2 separate regions of the Homo sapiens genome follow, and region 1 is linked to region 2. The links are contacts of gene promoters, found by promoter capture Hi-C in blood cells and fetal thymus (Javierre and others, 2016). All regions are on one chromosome and are shown on one strand. The core of a region is centred on a gene start or on the middle of the fragment in contact, and the rest is flanking DNA. Distances in the headings are between cores, read along the strand shown. Region 1 overlaps NOL9 (nucleolar protein 9). Region 2 holds the start of PHF13 (PHD finger protein 13).

Region 1 (5,848 bases), core at 160-2,659, 90 kb before region 2:
AAGGCAGGCGGATCCCCTGAGGTTGGAAGTTCGAGACCAGCCTGACCAATAAAGTGAAACGCCATCTCTACTAAAAATACAAAAATTAGCTGGGTGTGGTGGCAGGCGCCTGTAATCCCAGCTACTTGGGAGGCTGAAGCAGGAGAATCGCTTGAACCCAGGAGGCAGAGGTTGCAGTGACCTGAGATCAGGCCACTGCACTCCAGCCTTGGCGACAGAGAGTCCGTCGCAAAAGAAAAAAACAAACAAACAAACAAAAACTAAGAGCTTTTGTAAAGAATAGCTTCAGGCCAGGCGCAGTGGCTCACGCCTGTAATCCCAGCACTTTCGGAGGCCAAGGCGGGCGGATCACGAGGTCAGGAGTTCGAGACCAGCCTGACCAACATGGTGAAACCCTGTCTCTACTAAAAATACAAAAATTAGCTGGGCGTGGTGGCATACGCCTGTAATCCCAGCTACTCAGGAGGCTGAGGCAGGAGAATCGCTTAAACCTGGGAGGCGGAAGTTGCAGTGAGCCGAGATCACTCCACTGCACCCCAGCCTGGGCGACAGAGCTAGACTCTGTCTCAAAAAAAAAAAAAAAAAAGAAATTGCTTCAGCACTTTGGGAGGCCGAGGCAAGCGGATCACAAGGTCAGGAGATCGAGACCAGCCTAGCCAATACGGTGAAACCCTATCTCTACTAAAAATATAAAAATTAGCCAGGCATGGTGGCGCTCACCTGTAATCCCAGCTACTTGGGAGGCTGGGGCAGAAGAATCACTTGAACCCGGGAGGGGAGAGGCTGTAGTGAGCCAAGGTCGTGCCACTGCACCCCAGCCTGGGTGACAGAGCGAGACTCTGTCTCAAAAAAAAAGAAAAAAAAAAAAGAATAGCTCCAATGGAGAACTCCTTACTACCTAATCTGACCCATAACAGACTGTGGAAATGATAAAAAGTCCAATCTTGTCCTTCTTCTAAATGCCCTTAAAGCCACTGCCACCAGCCGGGTGCGGTGGCTCATGCCTGTAATCCCAACACTTTGGGAGGCCAAGGCAGGTGGATCACCTGAGGACAGGAGTTCAAAACCAGCCTGGCCAACATGGTGAAACCCCTTCTCTACTAAAAATAGAAAATCAGCCAGGCATGGTGGCGCATGCCTGTAATCCCAGCTACTCGGGAGGTTGAGGCAAGAGAATCACTTGAACCCGGGAGGCGGAGGTGGCAGTGAGCCCAGATTGCGCCACTGCACTCCAGCCTGGGCAACAAGAGCGAAACTCCATCTCAAAAAAAAAAAAAAAAAAAAAAAAGGATAAAAAGGCCACTGCCATCAATAATGGGATGAATTGTCATCCTGGAGAATGGTGCTGCTGCAGGTCTGACCGGCACAAGCTAGACCTGACAGAGGCCTTGGCTCCCTGTCTCCGAACCTCCTTCCCTAAACCCTGTACAGCTTCCTGGGCCAACTCTAGCCCCAGTACGGCCACCTGACCCACAGCTGATAGCTCCCTCTAGAGGCAACGATTTTTCTTTACTGATAGGGACTGAAGAAAAAGACTTGACCTTCATACAGGCCGCATTTAAAGCCTGAAGGCAAACCTAGATTGAATGCAAATGCAATTACAGGGCACCAGTTTCATTCTTCCAGAGCCTTGCTGCAAATGACCTCCAGTGAGTATAACTGTAAGATACACGAAAGTGGAGAAAGGCAAAACATTGATGGTGATGGATTGTCTTAAAATTCTTTACAAGGCCAGCACAGTAAAACATCATATGAATGAGCCAGATTTCAACATAAATAAGGGGCAACTAAGAAGCTAGACTCAATTGTCTCAAAGGTATCAAAACTAATCACCATAGCAAGGTTTCCTGTGCTTATTTTAAGTCCTTTGCTGTTGGGTCTAAGAGGTGCTGAGGGGCCACTGTAAAATACTAAAGACAATGATAACCAACAGTTGTATAAGTGTATATAAGTGTTAAAACCCACACATCCTAATAGTCTTACAATGTGATCATGCTGGGAAGATGGAATTCTGTCAAAGCGGTGGTCACAATACCAGTTTGAACCTCAGCCCCAGGAAGTATCCTGCTGTCTTAAATGCAGAAATGATGTGACCTGGTCCCATCACCCGTTTACACAAACCACTTCCAACCTAGAGGACAGAGTCGGAAGCACCAGGGAGAACGTGGAGAATGGCAGTCTGGTCACCAGCCGCCGGCACCCCCAGGAAAAAGCTCTAAATGGCAGGGTTGTTCATAGGTGCAAGTTCAGGTCCAGCCTCCCACAGGCAATAATGGAGCTTTCCCAAGAGCTGGTCTGCCAGTCCTTCTTCCTTCAAAACAGCCCAGTCTCCAGCTCTGCCCTGTGGTTGTCTCTGGCCTCAGATCAGAAGTCAATTTGGACAAATCTACTTTTATAAGAGCCCCCAGAAGAGGTTTTCCAGATTATTATTTTTTTTTTTTGAGATGGAGTCTTGCTCTTGTTGCCCAGGCTGGAGTGCAGTGGCGTGACCTCGGCTCACTGCAAGCTCCGCCTCCTGGGTTCATGCCATTCTCCTGCCTCAGCCTCCTGAGTAGCTGGGACTATAGGCGCCCACCACCACGCCCAGCTAGTTTTTTGTATTTTTAGTAGAGACGGAGTTTCACTGTGTTAGCCAGGATGGTCTCAATCTCCTGACCTCGTGAACCGCCTGCCTTGGCCTCCCAAAGTGCTGGAATTACAGGCGTGAGCCACTGCGCCTGGCCCCGAGGTTTTCCAGATTTGAAAGAAATTTCCTCAGCATAAAACCTCAGGATTAAAAAAAAGGAAGGGCTCTTGGGTCCAAATTTATATCTATCAAACCCGTTTAAATTTTTCTTTTCTTTTTTAAAAGATAAGGTCTTACTCTGTCGCTCAGGCTGGAGTAGTTGGTGTACTCCAGCCTGGAACTCCGAGGCTCAAGCAATCCTCCCGCCTCAGCCTCCCAAAGTGCTAGGATTACAGGTGTGCATGAGCCACCATGCCCAGCCCTATCTATTAAACCTTGATTGAATATAACAGACCAAGTACAACTGCACCAAATGGATGGGCTGTAACCATCCACACTGGCTCCAAGGAAGCAGACCGCTGGACCCCAGCTCTGCACATGGCTCAGGCAAGGCCCGTGGCGAGCCCTTGTATCCATTATGCTTGAGATCCTGCAGGTCGGCCTTCTTCCTTCCTTCTCGGTACATTGTAATGGCCCCAGTTTCCTTATTTTTATCCTGATTCTAATAACCAGGTCCCTGAAGAACTTTCTGAGGAATCTCTGTTTTAATGGCACACAAACTGTTCTCTGCTGTTTTACTCCCTCTGGACAGCAAGTATGAGTATCACACAGAAGACTAGAACAAATTCTAGCTCATGCAGCTTTAAAAGAGAAACTTAAGACTACTATATGACATTCACGAATTACACAAAAAACACTGTTGCTAATAAGGGCACCATTCATGGCCATGAAACTCCATCATGTCTCTTGTGGTCAGGCTTGAGACAAAGCTTTCTGGTAGGAAAGTTTCTTCCCTTATTAAAAACGCGAGCATCACTTCATTTTTCGACAGAACTTAGGTCTTCGGTATGGTTTCTCTTTATGTGCCTCCTCAGGTTCTCTTGCTCCAATTTTCTCTGATGCTCCAGGAAGTTTAAAATTGTAATCCGTTGTGACATAAGGTACTGTCCCTTCGATCCCACGCTGAAACGGAAACACAGAGAATGCATGGAAACACTCCAGGTCCAGCCCAGAGGGGTTTACAGTGCTCTCTCACACCTAGAAGGCAGTGTCATGGTGATGGTCTGGGTGGGGACTTCTCACTTTTAAGGCATTTGATCCCTTCCTTCAGAGCCCCCTTTAATCAACTGGCTCGGTAACAAACGTGCCAAGGCCTCCCTTCTGTCCCATTCCATCAACACAGCAAACAGCGTGAGGCAGAGTGGGGGTGCAGTGTGCGTCCCTTTCAAATGAGGGACACTGGAGGATGAGAATGGTAGGAATATCCCCCGTTCCCAGAGCCCACTCGCAGTCCCTGTGGCTGGCTCTGGGGCACACAGACGCCTTGACCTGGTCCCGTGATGCCTCTGAAGACTGTCCTCAGGAGGGCAAACCTGGGAGGGCCTCTGCTTGCTCCAACACAACCTACTCCTATGTAAAGGCTCCACCACGGGTTGCAGTGAGCCCAGATCGCGACACTGACACCACGAGGGACAGTGATTCATAGTCTCAGGCCTTGGAGGCGGCCCTGACACCGTCTCGGCTCACTCAGGATCTACAACAAAGTATAGGTTTCCCAGATCACCCATTCCCATGACCCCTGACCCTACTTCAGCTCCTCACTTCTGTGGACCTGAGTAGGCTCCTTCCAGGGCTGTGCCCGGGGGAAGGCTCACCTGGCACTTAAGGACACAATGTGGAATGGCAATAGCTCCAACGAGCAGACAATTCACGGTCCTTAGCTCTTCCGGGGGCACAGGGGTGAGGATGTGGTACAGCCGCTTCTCCATGTCAATGCCTCTACAGATGCCTTCAAGACACGCGCACAACACAAAAATCACCCTTTTGGAAAACATCAAACTTCTCCATCGTTAGAAACTGCAGAATGGTTTTGAACATAAGTCTTTATATCAACTCTGTTTTGTTTTGAAAATACAAAGAGCTGGCCAGGTGCAGTGGCTCACGCCTGTAATCCCAGCACTCTGGGAGGCCGAGGCGGGTGGACTACCTGAGATCAGGAGTTCGAGACCAGCTTGGGCAACACAGTGAAACCCTGTCTCTACTAACAATACAAAAAATTAGCCGGGCGTAGTGGTGGGCGCCTGTAGTCCCAGCTACTCGGGAGGCCGAGACAGGAGAATAGCTTGAACCCGGGAGGTGGAGCTTGCAGTGAGCCGAGATGGCGCCACTGTACTCCAGCCTGGGTGACAGAGTGAGACTGTCTCAAAAAAAAAAAAAAAATACAAAGAGTCAAGAGATGGAGTCCTTGAACACTGGGGCAGTTCGTACCTTCCCTGTGTTCAGCCACGAGGAACAAAAATGGTCTACATGCAAAAGTCCTAGATTGGGCCAGCTGCGGTGGCTATGCCTGTAATCCCAGCACTGTGGAGGCTGAGGCGGGTACATCGAATGAGGTCAGGAGTTTGCGACCAGCCTGGCCAACATGGTGAAACCCCATCTCTACTAAAATCACAAAAATCAGCTGGGCATGGTGGCGCGCACCTGTAATCCCAGCTACTCGGGAGTCTGAGACACAAGAATCACTTGAACTCGGGAGGCAGAGGTTGCAGTGAGCCCAAATAGAGAGAGACTTTGTCTCAAAAACAAAACAAAACAAAACAAAAAAAAAACAGCCTGGGCACAGTGGCTAATGCCTGTAATCTCAGCACTCTGGGAGGCCGAGGTGGGCAGATCACGAGGTCAGGAGTTCAAGACCAGGCTGACCAACGTGGTGAAACCCCATCTGTACTAAAAATACAAAATTAGCTGGGCGTGGTGGCACATGCCTGTAATCCCAGCTACTCAGGAGGCTGAGACAGAAGAATCGTTTGAACCTGGGAGGTGGAGGTTGCAGTGAACGGAGATCACACCATTGCACTCCAGCCTGGGCGACAGAGCAAGACTCCGTCTCGGAAAAAAAAACAAAACAAAAAAGTCCTTGATTGTTGGTGAGTACAGGCCAGGGGGAAAATCCACCACTAAGGAATATACAGAAGACAACCTGATATCACTGTTCCTCCTTTATGGTCTGTGAAAATGCTTTTGAGAAATACAGTGTTGTCCAAATCTGAAATGTGCATTTGAGGACTTTGCTAATTTGGGACTACTTAGCTCCAGCACCCTTCCAAAACTCCAAATTTATTG
Region 2 (6,120 bases), core at 2,205-4,704:
TTTCTAAGGGAAATGGAAAGACAAAAGAGGTCCTTTTTCTTGAAGTTTTCTCTTTCACTGGAGTAGCAGGAAGGTACAGGTCATATCTATGTACTAAAAATTACTGTTTACTAAAAACATATTCAATAAATATCTGGGTGCGGTGGCTTATGCCTGTAATCCCAGCACTTTGGGAGGCTGAGACAGGCAGATCACATGAGGCCAAGAGTTCAAGACCAGCCTGTCCAACATGGTGAAACCCCGTCTCTACTAAAAATACAAAAAATTAGCCGGGTGTTGTGGCGCATGCCTGTAATCCCAGCTCTCAGGAGGCTGAGGCAGGAGAATCGCTTGAACCCGGGAGATAGAGGTTGTGGTGAACCAGGATCACACCACTGTACTCCAGCAGGGGCAACAAGAGTGAAACTGTCTCAAAAAAGAAAGAAGAATAAACTCTCAAATTGGAAATGAAGGACCTACTCAGAATAATGGACTTGTTGACAAAACTGAGCTTAGAATTCACAGGCCTATATTGGACTACTTGGTTACATCAAGGAAGGAAAATCCCAAACATGGATTGAGTCAGGGGACAGATTTTCAGACTCAAGTGATAACTTTTGCTCAGAGTGGGTATTCACTCCAGGCAGGCAAGATAGCTCAGGACTGTAAACTCTACAATTTGGGAGGCCTGGGTGGGAGGATCCCTTGAGCCCAGGAGTTCCAGAACAGCCTTGGCAACATACGGAGACCCTGTCTTAAAAAAAAAAAAATTAGGCCTGGCATGGTGGCTCACGCCTGTTAATCCCAGCACTTTGGGGGAGGCTGAGGCGGGTGGCCATTCTTTCTTTTTTTGAGATGGAGTTTCGCTCTTGTTGCCCAGGCTGGAGTGCAATGGCGTGATCTCGGCTCACTGCAACCTCCACCTCCCTGACCCATGTCGGTCAGGCTGGTCTCGAACTCCTGACCTCAGGTGATCTGCCTGCCTCGGCCTCCCAAAGTGCTAGGATTACAGGTGTGAGCCACCGTGCCTGGCCCGATAATTTCTTAATATGTGTGTGTGTGGGAAAGGATTTAATGTTTATTATGTGACACATTTACCACAGGGGATAATAATGAGGTGTAAAAAAAAAAATCCCTCTTCTTTCACTTGGGTTTCACCTCTAATAATTATTCTTGGCCAGGCGCGGTGGCTCACGCCTGTAATCCCTGCACTTTGGGAGGCCTAGGTGTGCGGATCACGAGGTCAAGAGATCAAGACCATCTGGCCAACATGGTGAAACCCTGTCTGTACTAAAAATACAAAAACTAGCTGGGCGTGGTGGTGGGCGCTGGTAGTCCAGGCTACTTGGGAGGCTGAGGCAGGAGAATCGCTTGAACCCGGGAGGTGGAGGTTGCAGTGAGCTGAGATGGCGCCACTGTACTCCAGCCTGGCGACAGAGGGAGATTCTGTCTCCAAAAAAAAAAAGAATTATTCTTTTTGGTATTTACATTTTTAAACTACCAACGGGATCAACACCTTAGCAGTGTTTCTTATTCTGGCAAAACGAGTTGCTCCTTGTGAATATGACCTTGGGCAATACAGGCTAACTTCGGGGCATCTGCTTTGGTCACAGTAACCAGGTAACATTCCAAATCTGGCTAAATCATCTGTGCAATTGTATAAGAAGTTGTTAATCAAGTCTCGATGGGCCAAGTCCAATGTCTCTGTTTTAATCAGTAATTTCATGTTTTATCTTGTAAAGTACCTCAATTTATCACCTTTGGGAAGCCCTCCAATGGGCTACAATATTGCAGAAATAATAAAACAACAACAACAACAACAACAGTAAGCTACCATTTATTTAGCCAGGCACTACGCTAAAATTTAACAGCTTAGGAAACTGAGGCTCAGAGAAGTATTTTTTTTTTTTTTTTTGAGACAGAGTCTCGCTCTGTCGCCCAGGCTGGAGTGCAGTGGCACGATCTCGGCTCACTGCAAGCTCCGCCTCCCGGGTTCAAGCAATTCTCCCGCCTCAGCCTCCCGAGTAGCTGGGATTACAGGTGTCCGCCACCACGCCCATCTAATTTTTGTATTTTTAGTAAAGACGGGGTTTCACCATGTTGGTCAGGCTGGTTTCGAACTCCTGACCTCGTGATCCACCCGCCTCGGCCTCCCAAAGTGCTGGGAATACAGGCGCGAGCCACCGCGCCCGGCCGCTCAGAGAAGTATTTCTAAGATTAACACCATCTCCTAACTATTAAATATCTTCATCAGAATGATCATAACCCTTGAAATAGCAACAGCCAGCTTGATGGAGCATTCGGCGCCTGTCAAATATCTTACTAGTATCTCCAAGAGTTCGTTTTCTAATTTGAATTTTCAATTTTGTGTCACTCCCCTTTAACTTCTTCGAAGCTACCAAACAGGTTACTGAATCATCTGCGTTTTGTACTTACCTTTTTCCCCCACTTTCGAATATTAAAAATGTTCCCGTCAGACCGCCTTTTGGTCACCGCATAGGGGCAGTCCCCACCGTGTCCGGCCAGCCTTCCACACGTACAGCTGTCGGATACTCTGCGGTCCAGCGTTTACACACTGCCCATCCCAGTTAAACACCACTAAACAAGTACCAGTCGATGCCAGCGCCAAACACCGCGTCTCCGCCTCGCCCTGCGGGCCGGAGGATATTCAGGAGAGTGGGAAAACGGCCGGTCCCAAGGTTAGGCTTAGGCGGCAACAGAAAGCAAACTGAACGCACACCTCTTTAGAACACTGACAACGCTGGCCCGGTGTTTTTAATGCACGAACCCGGCCACCTCGAGTGAATCCCGCAGATGCCTAGAGAAGAGCCCGGTCCAGTCCCGGCCCCGCGGGCCCGGAGCAGGGAGCCGCACGAAGCCCGCAGCCGCGAAAACAACTTCGCTGAGCCCGGCCTGGAGCGGGGGCCGGGCGGCGACTCCGCCCTCAGCGGGGAGCGGGGAGCGGGGAGCGATGCCCGGGGCGGCCGCGACGTCAGCGTCCCCGCCCCTGCCGCCCCTACTCCCGGCCAGGCCTCGGGGACCCCCGCCCCACAAAGGGGCGCGAACCCCAAGTAGGAGACGAGGAAGGGTAGGTGCCAGCCGCCGCCGCCCTTCGCAACCCGGGCCGTCAGCCCCGCCCCCACCGCCGCAGCGACTCCCGCCCCCGCGCCCGCCGAGACCAAGGCGCTACCGCTCACACTGCCCCTCCCCCCGCGGCCGAGCCGGCGCGGGCCCCCGCACCTCCCCCGCTCGCGCGGCCTCGAGTCCAGAAGACCCGCCTCCACACACCGGGGCCGCCGCCGCGGAGCCTCATGGGGGTTGGAGTCCCCAAGGTTTCCTTTGTGCGCAGTATTGGCGGGGCCTTGGACTACCACTCCCACAAGGCACCGCGCCCGCCTCCCGCGCCACGCCCCCTCGCCGCTGGCTTCCAGTCGCCACCCAGACTACATTTCCCGACAGGCCTCCCGGCTCTCCCGCCCTCCCTCCCGAGACACGAGCCGAACTGGGCGTCAGGTCGGGGAGCCGGTCGGGTTCCCGCTCACCGCCGCCGCCGCCGCCCCCTGCAGCCACTCTCCCGCCTCTACCGCCGCGGGAGCTGCATCGTCCACTCCGGTCGGCGGTGGAACCGCCAGTCCGGGGTCACAGAGCTTGAGAAGCGACGCGCTGAGCCCCCCATCACCTCCAGCCCGGGCGACCCCTCCCGGGTCCGCCCTCGCCCTGCGCAGCCGCCCGAGCCCCCAGCCCCGGGCGGCCCCGCTCCAGCATCCCAGCTCCTGCACTCTCGCAGCCGCCGCCGCCCCCCGCCCGGAACATGGACTCTGACTCTTGCGCCGCCGCCTTCCACCCGGAGGTGAGTGAAGCTGTGCGTCCGAATCGCCCCCGACCACCCCCTCCGCGATCCTGCCGTCCTCAGGCAGCCAGACCCCCGGTCGCCCGGAGCGCCGCCCTCCCCTTCCCCCGCTTTCCCCTCGTCGGCCCCCCCGGGAGCCCAACCCCCGCCCCCTGCTCGGGCCCGCGCTCGGTCCTCTCCGCCGGGCCTCGCCTCCGCGTCCCCTCCGCGGACCTCCGCGTCCTCCCCGCGCCCTTTCCCCAGGGCCGTTGCGCCTATTTCTCTCCCCCGGGCCGCCCCTCTCCGGCCTCGCGTCGACCTGGGACCTGTCGGCGCCCCCAGCCCCTCCCCGCCGGCCTGCTTACTCTTTCCCCGCCCCCGGGGACGCGGTCCGAGCCGCCGCCCGCCCCTGGCTCCGGTTGCTCTCGAGGAGTTTTAGGCCCCCCTCGGACCGGGGTCGGCTCCCGAGGCCCCCGGCTGCTCCCCCGATCCCCCGGGCCCGGTGGCCCGCGCCCCGCCCCCTGACTCCGCGCGGGGCCCAGTCGGCCCCCGCCCCCTACGGCTCTCGGGGGCCGCGTCCTCCGGGGGCCCCACCCGCTCTGGGGACCCGAGTCCTGCCCCCACCCACCGCCCCCCGGCGCGCTGGCCTCTCTCTTCGGGCCCCCGCCCCCCGCCCGCGGGCTTTGCTGGCTCCGCCCCGGCTCACTCCCCCTCCTTCCGGGGATCGGCCCTCGGGGCTCCCGGCCTCCCCCCCGCGCGGTCCCCTCCCCCCAGCCGAGGCTCGTTGGGGTCGGGGGTGCGGGTCCGGCGACCGCGGGCGGGTGGGGGAGGGGAGGCGGCGCCGGAGCCCGCCGGTCTCGCTGCCGCCCCCGGGGGTTCGCAGGGCCTCCCCAGGCCTGGGACCCCGGAATCCTGCCTGGCGCACCCCCCTCACACATACTCGCGGGATGGGCCCCGCACCTTCGGGGGCCGAGTGTCGCGGGGGGCGGCTGCCGCGGGAGGGCGGGTGGGGGCCGCTCCGCCATCTGCTTTCCGAGGAGGCGGCCGGGGGGGCGGGCGGCGTGGGCCGTGTGGGGGCGGCGTGGAACCCCCAGTCCCCGCGCCGGTGCCTCCCGCGCGCCCCCGGCCCGAGGCCGTCGCCGCCCTCCACTTGGCATTCGGGTTTTTGACCCACTTCTGCTGGTTCCCCGCCGAAAGAAAAGTTCTTCGCGGGAGTTGGAGGCCCGGGTGGCGGCCCGCGGTTCCCGTGGCTGGGCAGGCTCGCCAGTGCGGGGAGCGCGGTCAACGCGGGCCTTCGCCTCCGCTCCGTGGGCGGCCCTGGGGTCCAAGGGGGTGGGAGAGGAGAAGGTTTGCTTGAACCAGGTTGAGAAAATAATTTTCTAAGGGCACCGACTTTCTCGAAAGAAAACCCGCGGGCCGCACGCCTGCTCCTCGCGGCGGGAGGGGCGGCCCGAGACCCCTGCCCCCCATTTCCCCACCGGCTCTCCCCCAGCAGAGTGGCGGCCGGGTAACAGCACCTCGGGAAGGATGGGGGTGGGTCGGACAAGGCACTGAAAGGAACCTCAGGGAACGTGCCGGGCGAATAAACAGCAATACGGCACACTTGTTTTGCTTAGGAGCAAATAAGAGCTCCATCTCTCCGTGCTTCTCTCAGGAGAAAATATCTTTTTGTGATGGGTGTTTCTAGATGGAATGGGGCTGGGACCCGCGAGCAAAAACCTCCACTATTCCGTTTAAATGTAAGACTAAGCTTCGCAGTAAGGTTCTTGGTTTATTGTGAGTTGAGATAGTTGGGTGCCTGGCATCCCGACTGGCTGGGACAGTGGAGGGGACCCTCTGAGCACGAGAGAGGGGTCCTCAGGTGGCGCTAGCTTGGCAGGGTCAGCCAGGAGTGAACTCCAGGGTCCAGGTCTCCGAGAGCTCTGGAGAATGAGTGGTTGATTTTTTTTTTTTTTTTTTTTTGAGTTGGAATCTTAGCTCTGTCTACCGGGCTGGAGTGCAGTGGCGCGATCTTGGCTCACTGTAACCTCCGCCTCCGGGTTCACGCGATTCTCCTGCCTCAGCCTCCTGAGTAGTTGGGACTACAGGTGCACGCCACCACGCCCGGCTAATTTTTGTATTTTTAGTAGAGACGGGGTTTCACCATGTTGGTCAGGCTGGTCTCGAACTCCTGACCTCGTGATCCGCCCGCCTCGGCCTCCCAAAGTGCTGGGATTACAGACGAGAGCCACCGCGCCCGGCGAGTGGTTGATTTTTGAAATCACTTAACATACATCAGTTCCAGCTGCTGCTGCAGCAGTTCATACTCAGAA

What was found. The method cuts DNA at HindIII sites, captures the fragments that hold promoters and counts their contacts. A CHiCAGO score of 5 or more calls a contact.
Region 1: a contact is called between a fragment that was not itself captured here and the fragment with the promoter of PHF13 in region 2, in 3 of 17 cell types (neutrophils, naive CD4 T cells and erythroblasts). The highest score is 6.0, in neutrophils.

Annotation. Positions count from the first base shown.
Region 1 is chr1:6,522,316-6,528,163 of GRCh38, forward strand. It overlaps NOL9 (nucleolar protein 9), which reads right to left. Exons shown (of 12, transcript NM_024654.5): 11 at 4,381-4,514; 12 at 1-3,688. The coding sequence ends at 3,539. Among named protein-coding and RNA genes, the nearest start is that of NOL9, 29 kb to the right of the region's middle. The HindIII fragment of the contact is 4,167 bases long and covers 1-3,493 here.
Region 2 is chr1:6,610,277-6,616,396 of GRCh38, forward strand. PHF13 (PHD finger protein 13) reads left to right here and starts at 3,455. Exons shown (of 4, transcript NM_153812.3): 1 at 3,455-3,829. The coding sequence starts at 3,791. LOC107984913 (a long non-coding RNA gene) reads right to left here and starts at 3,111. Exons shown (of 2, transcript XR_001737882.3): 1 at 2,416-3,111. RefSeq lists silencers at 2,904-2,953, 3,004-3,783, 3,954-4,043, 4,184-4,643. The HindIII fragment of the contact is 6,383 bases long and covers 1-5,556 here.